Regions from separate parts of the Homo sapiens genome. Here all the other regions are linked to region 1. The links are contacts of gene promoters, found by promoter capture Hi-C in blood cells and fetal thymus (Javierre and others, 2016). All regions are on one chromosome and are shown on one strand. Each heading gives the region's core, a stretch centred on a gene start or on the middle of the fragment in contact. The rest is flanking DNA. Distances are from core to core; before and after follow the strand shown.

Region 1 (3,498 bases), core at 469-2,968:
TGCCACCATGACCGGCTAATTTTGTATTTTCAGTAGAGACGGGGTTTCTCCATGTTGGTCAGGCTGGTCTCTAATTCTCGACCTCAGGTGATCCACCCGCCTCAGCCTCCCAAAGTGCTGGGATTACAGGTGTGAGCCACCAGGCCTGGCCTAAGAATCTACTCTTTTAAGAAGGTTGGATGAGAAAGAAATAAAAGCGAAGGCTAAAGCAAGAGGAGGCTGCTGAGTGGAGGAAGGTATTTCATTTTATTATGTCTGCTGGGCAAAGATCAGTGAAGAGGCCGAAGTTGGTTACAGGAGAGATTGTGAATAATGGATGGAGGTGGGAAAGGACAGGATATAACGCACACCTGCAGGGCCTAGTCCCAGCCAAGGGAGCTGGAGAGTGTCTATTCTTCCCAAGAAGGAGGAAGGAAATCAGAAAGTTTCATTCAGTGGTTCTCACATTAAAATCACTGAGGTATCTTAAAAAAAATGCCAATAGCTGGGTCACACCTCAGAAGTTTCTGGTTTAATTAGTCTGGGATGGTCCTGGGCATTGATGTGTTTTCAAAGCTTCCCAGGTGATTAAAATCTGCAGTCAAAGTTCACAACCACTGGTTTAATTGCAGGTAACATTTTAGATTAATGATAATGGGATTGGATTTGAGGAAACTCACACTTAATAAAGGTTGGATGAATAGGGAGTGGTCAAGGTTTCATAGATGAGGAAGGGAGAAAGAGAAGGAAGCTAGAAGGGAAGGCAGCTAATGCTAACTTATTGAATTTTATGTGCCAGAGATATAGAAATGAATGAGGCATGGTCCTTCTTCTTAGAGATCAGGATCTCACATGACAGACACTTCACCACAAGCCTATGACATAATACAGTTCTTGACCAGTTAAGTTTTTTTGTGTGTGAGCTACTTTTATTCTTTTTTTTTTTTTTTTTTAACTAAAAGTGAAGGGGGAAACCCCTCACACCCAGAACCCAGGTATTTCCCAATATAGACTGGGTCTGGAAATCCTTTTGTGAGCATTGAGAGTAGCCTTTCTGGGAAGGTGGGTGCTGGGGAAAGATCTGTAACTATTCCGGGAGATCAACTTGTACCCAGGCTCATCAGCAGGGCTGGAAGTAGATGGTGATTGTGGCCCTGCATGTGGGTACATTACTGCAGTCACCTGTACCTGGGAGGTGGCTAAAATTGCTAATTGCTTACATGGAAACACTTTGATGGCCATTCTGCTATAGTGTGAAGCTTCTATGAGTAAGGTACCAAGGATTCCCTTTCTCTGAGCAGCATTGTAAAAAGGCCCTACTTTTCATCAGAGCAGAAAACCTAACTTTTGCTACTGTGGTCTGGGCCTGACCTCCAGGGACAGCTTCATCCACACAGGAAGTAGGTAGGTGCTTCTCTATAGTCTGGACCTTCCCTCAGAGAGAGTCTACTGTCACTTCTTGAGTTCCTTGAATCTTCCCCAGGAGGGTCCAACTCCCAGGGCTCCTGGGAAGCCTCTGATCTGACCCCACCAGCCCCACCTCCACCTAGTGAGCTGGTGAGGTGTTGAAAGGGCTTTAATGGAGGGCCCTGGCTTTTAGCTAGGGGCCTCCTTCCCCGAGGAAGAGTACTGAAAGAAGTGTCCTAGAGAAGTGTTCTCTCCTAAGAGAAGTATCCTAGGCACAGAACAGAGAGGGGAAACTCGACTGGGAATTGACTGTGGCACTATGAGTATATGGAGGGTGTTCCTTCTGTTACCTCATTAGACCCTTTTTATATAAGCAGAAATTGAGGCTTGAAGAAATTAAGAAATTCGACTATGTCCTCAAGGACAGGAGCTGTACAAAATCCAATCTGTTCCATTCTATTGTCCCTCAGGCTCTTGGCCTCCCTCTGTTATTGTAGGTTGGCCCCTTTAGGAAAATCTCAGTTGAATGTCATTTCAGTGCTCTCCTTCCTTCTAAAGAATTAAGCTAGGTCCCTTAGACCATAGGGCACATGGGCCTTCTAGCTGGGTCTCTGTTTGCTTACTCAGTGACTTGGGGACGTGTGAAATCCAGATGGGATTCTATCCTGAGGTGAAGGTAGAAGGTAATACAGAGAATTGCTGAATGGGACAGACCACACCAATAAAATTTTTTGTTGGACTCTGTAATCCAGTGTTTTCATTGCAGAGATGTAATTGAAAGCCCCCAACCTCACCGTCAGAGAAAGGAGGGACTAAGCTTATTCTAGCCTGATGCCTGATACCTGTTAATTGGGAAGCCTTGTCTGTTAACATCCTGACTTAGGTTTCAAGCTTTCAGTGGGGCCAGACTATGGAATTATCTGTAATTCTGGCATCAGAAGCCCTTTTTCCAGTTCTTTGGGCCATTTTGGGGTCTGTGAAACAGGCTAGCAGCATGTGAAGATAATTCACACTAAATCTGCCTGAGAGTCAAGACAGTGCCACGGCAGCCCCGACTCTGTGTCAAATTACACACTAGCTGCCTAGCACTGGGGTGTGCTTTGGGGCAGGGCTGGGGACACCCATGTCCTCCCTACTTCCCTTAACCCTTCCCCAGCTCTCCTGCCACTCCCTCATACACCTGGTCGTGGTCACTGCCAGGAGCCCCAGTGCGGCCCAGTGCCTGCACATGATAGGCACAAGGTGAATGAGTGCCTGGACGCATGCAGGGACTTGGGTACCTGAAATGATGATTCTGCATATTTCATGTAGTCTTGATGCTGAGTCACCTGCTTACCCATACTACTGGAGGAGGGGATGAGGAAAGACAGAGTTTGGGCAAAGGAGAAAGGAAGTGTGTTTTACTGTTCTGCATCTTTGAACAATGCAGCATAGTTGGTTCTGTCCTCATCTTTGGACAGGTTAGAATGAACCATCAAAAGGGGTGAGATTAGGTCTCAGGAAATAGTTTTCATCAGGGAGGAGCAAAAATTCCCAAACAAGTGAGGAACAGAGGCTGGGAGTCTCTTTCTCTGGGATTCCTTAATCACAGGGTTGTTCAAGCAGGTGCCAGGATTGGAAACTGAAGGAGGCTGAGATATTGAAAAGGCCTTGGCCTGCTTAGGGAGAAGTATGTGAAGATGCTTTTGAAATGATACTACTCTAAGTGGCGGGTTGCACGGCAATAACATTAATGATAATTGAATACTGCTTTCACTTACTCCAAGGGGAACATGGACTTCCCACAGCCCAGGCTTTTACGGTGTGGGTTCACTCTTGTAGGGTCACATGTAAAAGAACCCTAACTGGTTTCTTGGCATACTGGGAGGCACAAATGCCCCAAACGTGTAGGATATTTTGTGAGATCCTACAATCCCTGTGTGGCACCTTCAACTCTAAAGTATCTGAAACTCCTGGGATGGACAATCTGCCTGCTTGGGGTTGGGGACCCAACTGGCCAAGGCATTTTTCCTCTTGGAGGTTTCCTGGGAGAAGGCCCCCTCTCCTCTGCCATTCAAACTCCCAGGCGCCCGCGTCTTTTCCTCCTCCCCTTCTTCCCTAAGGCAGGGTTCC
Region 2 (3,498 bases), core at 799-3,298, 700 kb after region 1:
AGGTTGGCTGGTTTGCTTTCTTCCTCTCTCTGTTTCTCTCTTTCTGGCTTCTTTTCTCCCTCCTCCAAAATATGGATTTGGTTCAAACTAACCTAAGAAGGTAGGAGTCCTAGGCAGTTCCTCTCCCAGGGTCTTGGGATGGCAAAGCAATGGACAGATGCTTCCAGCTATTAGGAGGAACTGGAAGCATCTAGGTACAGAACTGGAGAGGGTACAGCCAAGGAGTATGTGAGGTTCAAGCTCTATGTCTAACTAAGATGCCTACTGCTAAGGACTCAGAGTCAGAGAGGAAGCTGGGAGAGAGGAGCTGGAAAGGCCCGTGGGGTGGGGAGTTCCCATTTCTATCCAGGAAAGGCAGAAAGTAAGTCTAACAGAACAGCCAAGACTTAGGCAAAAGCAAGAGCCTAAAATGGACATATAGGCCAATAAGGTTTAAGCAAAATTGCCCCACCCCTGAGGCAAGCCCTTGCCTAATCCTAGGAGTATGACAGATCTGAATCCAGCTGTTGGGAGGTTAGCCAGTGAGAAAGAAGCCTGAGGGAAAAGACTGACTTTTAAATTTCAGCCAAGGACAGTAAAAGTTAGTGATTTTTTAGAGATTCTTACCATGATTTTGGAAAACTGAGAATACTGCCTGTCATACTCAGGGAAAGCTATAGTTGGGAGGGCAGAGACTTTCAAAGCTATTGTTGAATCTTGGCTTTAAGGTACAGGTGGGGAACAGGTCCTGGTAATCTTCCAATCTCTGTAACTGTGCCTTTCCTGCCCATGCCATCCCCATGCTGTGTTCTCTGAGGACCAAGAGTTGGGAAGAGGAGGGGAAAGCCCTGCTGTGCTATCAGACCCTGCATTACATGCCCATCCTCACTGCAGCCCTGGCCACTGTCTCCTTTCTTCCTTTCTTTATTTCTTTTCTTTTTTTCTTTCTTTCTTTCGCCAGGGTCTCACTATGTTACCCAGGCTGGTCTTGAACTCCTGAACTCCTGGCCTCAAGTGATTCTCCTGCCTGGCCACTTTCTATGGTCTCAGTATCTCAGGTATGATGGGGAGCAAGGTGATGTGTAGAAACCAAAGGCCACAAGTAGCAGTCATCATTCCCACTTACAGCCCAGTCCCAGAGGACACAGATCCTGTTTTTGCCCCACACCAGCTGTGTTGGGAGGAAAATTCTGTCTGTATTTCCTCCTTCAGCTGAAAGCAGAAAGCTTGCATCTGGGCCTCTTCAGTTATCACTTGGTCCTGGGGGACAGAGTTAATATCTGGAAACTGGCTTAAATAAAAGATATCAGGGAAGGGTAGGAGTCTGTTTTTCTCATTTTCTCACTCTTCCCCCACTTCACCCTTCTAAGGCTGCGTGGGTTCTCTCTCTCTCTCTATCTCTCTCTCTCTCTCTCTCTCTCTCTCTCTCTCTCTCTCTCTCTCTCTGTGTGTGTGTGTGTGTGTGTGTGTGTGTGTGTGTGTGTGTCACCTGAGAGACTGGGTTCTGCTACCCTCTAGTGGCCAGAGCTGAAAGGACTCTCCCACCCAATCAATCGGGACCTTCAAGCCTTTGGGAATAAACGAACAGCCTATTTGATGAATGACAAAACTGAGAAGGCCTAGAGAGAAACAATGCCTTTGAGGGTCAGGGGCATAGTTGGGACTAGAACCCAGGTCTCCTGTCTCTCGGGCCAGTGGTCAGTCCACTTTCACTTCCCCACCCTCTGACTTTTGCTTCTCCTTCCTTGCTCATCCCTGGGGTGGTTAGCCCGAGTAAGAAACCCTGAAGCCAAATGATCCCTCCCGGCCCTAGTGGAGCAGCACCTGCACCTCAAATGTCAAAATCGCAAATCAGTTCACAGCGGAGATCACAGGGGTTTATTCTAAGGACCCGACTGTCCTCCGACTTTCTGAGGTTAACAATCTTGCAGGATTTTTATTGACCTGATACAGCTCCCGTAGCCTTGGTGGCACCACCATACGGTTCCCGATAGCCACCCAGGTGTCCTGTCTCCACGGTAACTGCTGCTTTGCGACCTTCGGTTTGCAGCGGTCGCGCTGCAGCCGCTGCAGTGGTTGCTGGGCGACCACGGAGAGAAAGCCGGGACTTGAGGTGGGAACCCCGGCTGGCGTCCGGTAGGGGGAGGTTCCCGGGGAAGCCCGCGGAAGGCGAGGTGCCTGGCCTGCCATGTAGGGGCTCGTTCCAAGCCGCAGACCCCACCGCCCTCCCTCTCCCCGGGGCCCATGGCGGTGGCCGTGCCCCCGGGTCGGGCCGCAGGCTCAGGCTGGGCCTGGAGGCCAGTGGCGCGGGACGCGCTTTTGGCTAGAGCTTTCCATTCATGCACCGAACTGCGGGGACGGTTCTATCTCGTAGGTGGTCTCCTAGCAGGAGGAGCGAGAGAGCCCAGCAGCGATACGGTGGTTTTCGACCCAGCTAGGGGCCAGGCCGTACGATTGGGAGCCCGGGGCAGCCCCCCGCGCAGTCACCACGACGCGGCACCCGTGGACGGGCGTTGGCTCTGCGTGGTGGGCGGCTGGGACGGGTCTCGCCGCTTGGCCACAGTGACCGCACTGGACACAGAGCGCGGTGTGTGGGAGGCGTGGACAGGGACCCCTGGTGACTGCCCCCCCGCCGGCCTCAGTAGTCACACCTGCACCCGAATCTCTGACCGAGAGCTGCAGGTGGCTGGCCGGGAGGGCGGTATCCACACTCAGCGACGCTATGGAAGCATCTACACATTAAGGCTGGACCCCAGCGCCCGCACCTATTGGTATGGCACCCTCCGCCCAAAACCTTTCACTCTCATCCACACTCTCGAAAAACAAAAGCCTAAGCAGATTTCTCAGGCAATTTATCCACCTCCTCACTCTAGCACCCTCCTTCCAGGGGAACCTACCATGTTTAAGCTAGCTGAGCTCTCTACAGTATTACCCTCCCTCTTATCCCACCTACCGCACTGCCCCATGCCTCTTCTCCATCCATCCTTGGCAAGGGCGGTGGCACTTACATTTTCCAGAAAACCCACTCAGCCCTGAATTTCTGCATGTCCACAGCTACAAGCAAGAAGGCTGCCACACAGCCTCACGCTCAGGTCACTGTGCGGCCCTGCTCCAAACTCCTGGACCCCATCCAGGTCATCAGCTATTGCTCTTTGGAGGTTGCAACTTAGCTGAACCAGAAGTAGCTGGGCATTGGAGTCATGGGAAAATTAAGGTATTAGCTCCTCACACATCTTGTTTAGGATGGGAAGAGGCTAAAATTGTGATGCCCAGGTCTCTTCGGACAGTCCTTTCTTTCTCCCCAAGGAGGAACCACCTGTTGCTCCTCATTTGATGGAACAGCTTGCAAGGCTTGTGAGCAGTGGGCAGGGGTCCCAGAAGGGGCCCCATGGACTACGGCATCACTCATGTTCTGTGGTCGGGCCCTTTGCTGTGCTGTTTGGTGGAGAAACTCTGACCAGAGCTAGAGACACCATCTGCAATGATCTCTACATCTATGATACTCGTGAGAGCCAGACT
Region 3 (3,498 bases), core at 552-3,051, 650 kb after region 1:
CAGGTGATCCGCCTGCCTCGGCCTCCCAAAGTGCTTGGATTACAGGCATGAGCCACCGCACCCAGCCAACAACACATCTCTAAATGGATCATTAAAGCTATTATGACCTGCCATGATGGCAGCTTCATGGGAATCAGGAAGGGCCATGTATTGGCCCCACCATCAAAAAATACAGTGTCATGGACACTGATGCTTCTTCCAGTTTCTCAGCCACATGTTGTCCATCAAGACATTTCTGTTTTCAAACCTAGGAAGAGGAAATCTGAAGCCCACTACCACTGGAAGAATATCCCTGACCACAAAGACTAGACTTGGCATTTGGGCCCCATTCTACTGACAGGACTCTTGTTTTGGGGTATCCAGATTTATATAATCTGTTAGAAACCCTAAAGCCCAAGTGGATCCTCTTCAAGCATTCTCTATTTTATTCATCAAGCCTTCCTGCAGAACAACACTGTTGCTAAAATGTTGCTATGACAACTCCAAATCAACTAAGCCTGAGCAAGAAGGGGTAAAAAAAAAAAAAACAGGGTTCTGAAGAAGAGACAAAGGGGGAAGAATCCACCTACAAGCTCTGCCTTAGGACCCTGACACCCAGCCAGAGGGCAGGAAAAACAAAGAGCTGGGCAGACATGCCTCCAGAAAGAAACAGCTACACAGTACAAAGCAATAAGATAATCCCAACACAAAAGGGGCAAGATTTTTGGAAATTCTCTACCCATAAGGTCCTCCAAACCTTTCCTATCCAAGGAAAATTTTCAATGGATAAGCCTCGGAAAGACCGCGTCCGAGGAAAATGTTGAAAAAGGAACTGAAAGTGAAACCGTACAGACGAAGTAACGCTGCAAGGAGATCCCAGTCGATAAGGGGAAGTAGCACTAGTGTTTTGGGACCACCTACATTTCCATCTTCAAACCTGAAGAGGAAATGCCCTGCGAAGCTTGCCGCGCTGACTGCAGGGGAAGGCAATGAAATAGAGGGCCCGGCACAGGAGGCATCTCTATTGGCCACAGCTGTCAGCCGGGGCAGTCTCTGAGGACACCCAGCAACGGGGTCAGGGTACTTATTCAAATCTTAGTTGGACATCCGGAAGCATTTCCTAGGCATTAGGGATCGGTGACACGGAAACAGGGATGGGACGTTGTGGTGTGCACGCTCAGGCCAGAAGGGCCCAGTAAGAGCCCTTGCTAAGTCTGGACACAAAGGGAAAAAAAATCAACTCCCGAAAGAAGTCAGGCACCTAGACCTTGCCTTAGAATGAGGCGTCTCCCTGCAGGCTCACCAACCAGAAGGCGCTTACGGAGCTGAGCGCCCGCCAGGCGCGAGCCCGGGAGCCTGCGCCGTGACCCCGCAGCCCCGCAGTCTTAGCCCCGCGCCCCAGCTGCTCCGCGGAGGAGGCAGGAAAGGGCCTCGGGGACTAGGGAGCTCAAGCGCCCGGTGCCGGCGGCTGCGGCGCGCAGCTGGACAGCGCAGGAGGGCTGGGACGCTCGCGCTCTGGGGAAGGGAGAGAGTTTGGCCCACAAAGCAGGGTATGAGATAAAGAACCAGCACAGCCCCCTCCCCCAAAACAAAGGCTTCCTCCCCAGCAGTGTTCTCTAACTTGAAAAACGGAAACAAAATCAAAGCTGCCCTGCCTTGCCAGTCCACCCAGTTTCCAGACTTCTGCCCGGTCCTACACTCACCGGCCAAGGCCGTCTCAGCTGCCGATTTTCTCCAACTGTGTTCTCCCTCTCCCGGCCTAGGTATCTCCATAGACAGCTGCTCATGCGCACTTCCAGCCCGCGGCCATGTTGGTGAGGGGCGGAAGTGTCGCTCTCGCCCCGCCCATAAACTCAAACTCAGAACTGCCCCACTTCCGCTCACTCCATCTTGATGAGAGTTGGTGTTTGTGGGTTATTTGTGAAGCCGGAAAGAAGCCGTGTCCTGGAGAATGTAGCTGAAGGCCTGGCCACTTTCGACAAGAACGGGAAAGAGACGACTAACTTGTACTAATATCTTAGTGCTTGGCAGGGCATTTTTTCATTCCAGGAAAGAAGAGAATCCAGCTGAGATCAAGGGAGGGACGTCCGACGGAGGCGCCATCTTTAACAAGGGCTATTTGGGAGGCCATCTTGGCGCAGGGCGTCTTTTTGAAAGGTTACCTGCTAGAGATTACGACCTATCGGGGCATGCATAGAATTGGATATGTTCCTTGTTATTCGCGTCAGCAGTCACTCATCCAAAGACCCCAAAGCTTCTAGTGTTCTAAAGGCTCACACCTTCTGTGACAGGAATCTTGATTCCCATTCTTCTCAATCAAGACCTACCCTGAATGGATTTGGAGTAGTGTGGTATAATGGGAAAAATTCAAGCTTGGGGGCCAGGCAGATCCAGGTTTCAAACCCATCTCTGCCACTTCTTACCTCTGAGACCTTTGGCAAACATTTTGACTTAATTGAGCCTTAGTTTCCTCATCTATAAACTGGAGATACTAGCACCAACCTTCCAGAATTGTGTGGATTAAATAAAATCAAGGACATAGATTTTGTGAGCACAGGATACTTAGTCCAGTTCCTGGCACATAATGAACGCATTATGTAAATATAAGTTTCTCTTCCTTATTTCCTGACCACCATGAACCTAGCTCTAGTTTCTGGCCACTAGTCTCCATGACAACAACTGAGGAAGAGCACCCAAACAAGAAGAAGAAAAAGAATGTTTTGCCAAATATGTGAAGATATAATACCTATCACCAAAGACTTTAATAAGAATAATGAGACTCCACACTATGTGTAAAAATACAGCTTTTATTCTGAGACATTGACCTTCACTAGAGTGGGACCTGTGGCCCCAGCCTGGCTGGAGAAGCAGTCCCAGGGCCTGAGTGACACCATTTCCCTTTCCTGAAATAGGAACAAGTTATTCCAAAGGAGAAAGGAGAGCCCAGAGAGATCTGTACAGGACCTCTCTTGCACATGGTGACTGGAGGCAGAGGGTGGGGAGCTGGAGAGGAGTCCAGTCCCTCCAACAAATATTGAGGGCTTCAAAGAGCTCTTCCTGGACGTTTCTCTTAATCTGGATTTAAAAGGGACAGGAGGTATCTTAGGGTCCAAGAACATAACAGGAATGGGCAACTCTAGAAGTGTTTGTGTGTGGAAGGCCCTAACCTGGCCCTGTCCTCCCTGTCTCTACCTTTGGCTTTCATGAAGAGAGATTCACAGCTCAGAGGAAGGGAGGAATTTCTCCAGTCTTCACTTTAACAAACTCTTTTAAGTTTTCTGCCTACCTTATGTTCCCTTTGGCCAATGACCCACTCCCTGGGAACAAGATCTTGTTGACTTTCTTGGGAATCTCCTAAGAGATAAGTGCTTTGTGTCGGAGACAAGTTCAGGTAAACCAACCAAGGCAGTGCCTCCCACAGTCAAAGAGAGAAGCTGGAGGGCCAAAGCCTATAGAGTTGGGCACTACAGCTGCTCATGCTGCAGAGGAGACAGCTAGTCAGGAACCCTGGAGATTCAA

The links. The method cuts DNA at HindIII sites, captures the fragments that hold promoters and counts their contacts. A CHiCAGO score of 5 or more calls a contact.
Region 2: a contact is called between the fragment with the promoter of KLHDC9 here and a fragment that was not itself captured in region 1, in 1 of 17 cell types (fetal thymus). The highest score is 5.2, in fetal thymus.
Region 3: a contact is called between the fragment with the promoter of USF1 here and a fragment that was not itself captured in region 1, in 1 of 17 cell types (fetal thymus). The highest score is 5.3, in fetal thymus.

What each region holds. Positions count from the first base shown.
Region 1 is chr1:160,396,388-160,399,885 of GRCh38, forward strand. All of the region lies in intron 3 of LOC105371466 (a long non-coding RNA gene), which reads right to left. Among named protein-coding and RNA genes, the nearest start is that of VANGL2, 2.4 kb to the right of the region's middle. The HindIII fragment of the contact is 965 bases long and covers 1,237-2,201 here.
Region 2 is chr1:161,096,313-161,099,810 of GRCh38, forward strand. KLHDC9 (kelch domain containing 9) reads left to right here and starts at 2,049. Exons shown (of 4, transcript NM_152366.5): 1 at 2,049-2,750; 2 at 3,034-3,193; 3 at 3,286-3,484. The coding sequence starts at 2,224. RefSeq lists silencers at 2,183-2,362, 2,423-2,472. The HindIII fragment of the contact is 8,697 bases long and covers 1,204-3,498 here.
Region 3 is chr1:161,044,176-161,047,673 of GRCh38, forward strand. USF1 (upstream transcription factor 1) reads right to left here and starts at 1,802. Exons shown (of 11, transcript NM_007122.5): 1 at 1,683-1,802. ARHGAP30 (Rho GTPase activating protein 30) reads right to left here. Exons shown (of 12, transcript NM_001025598.2): 12 at 2,771-3,498. RefSeq lists enhancers at 602-831, 891-1,771, 1,370-2,569, 1,682-2,161, 1,772-2,652. The HindIII fragment of the contact is 1,293 bases long and covers 939-2,231 here.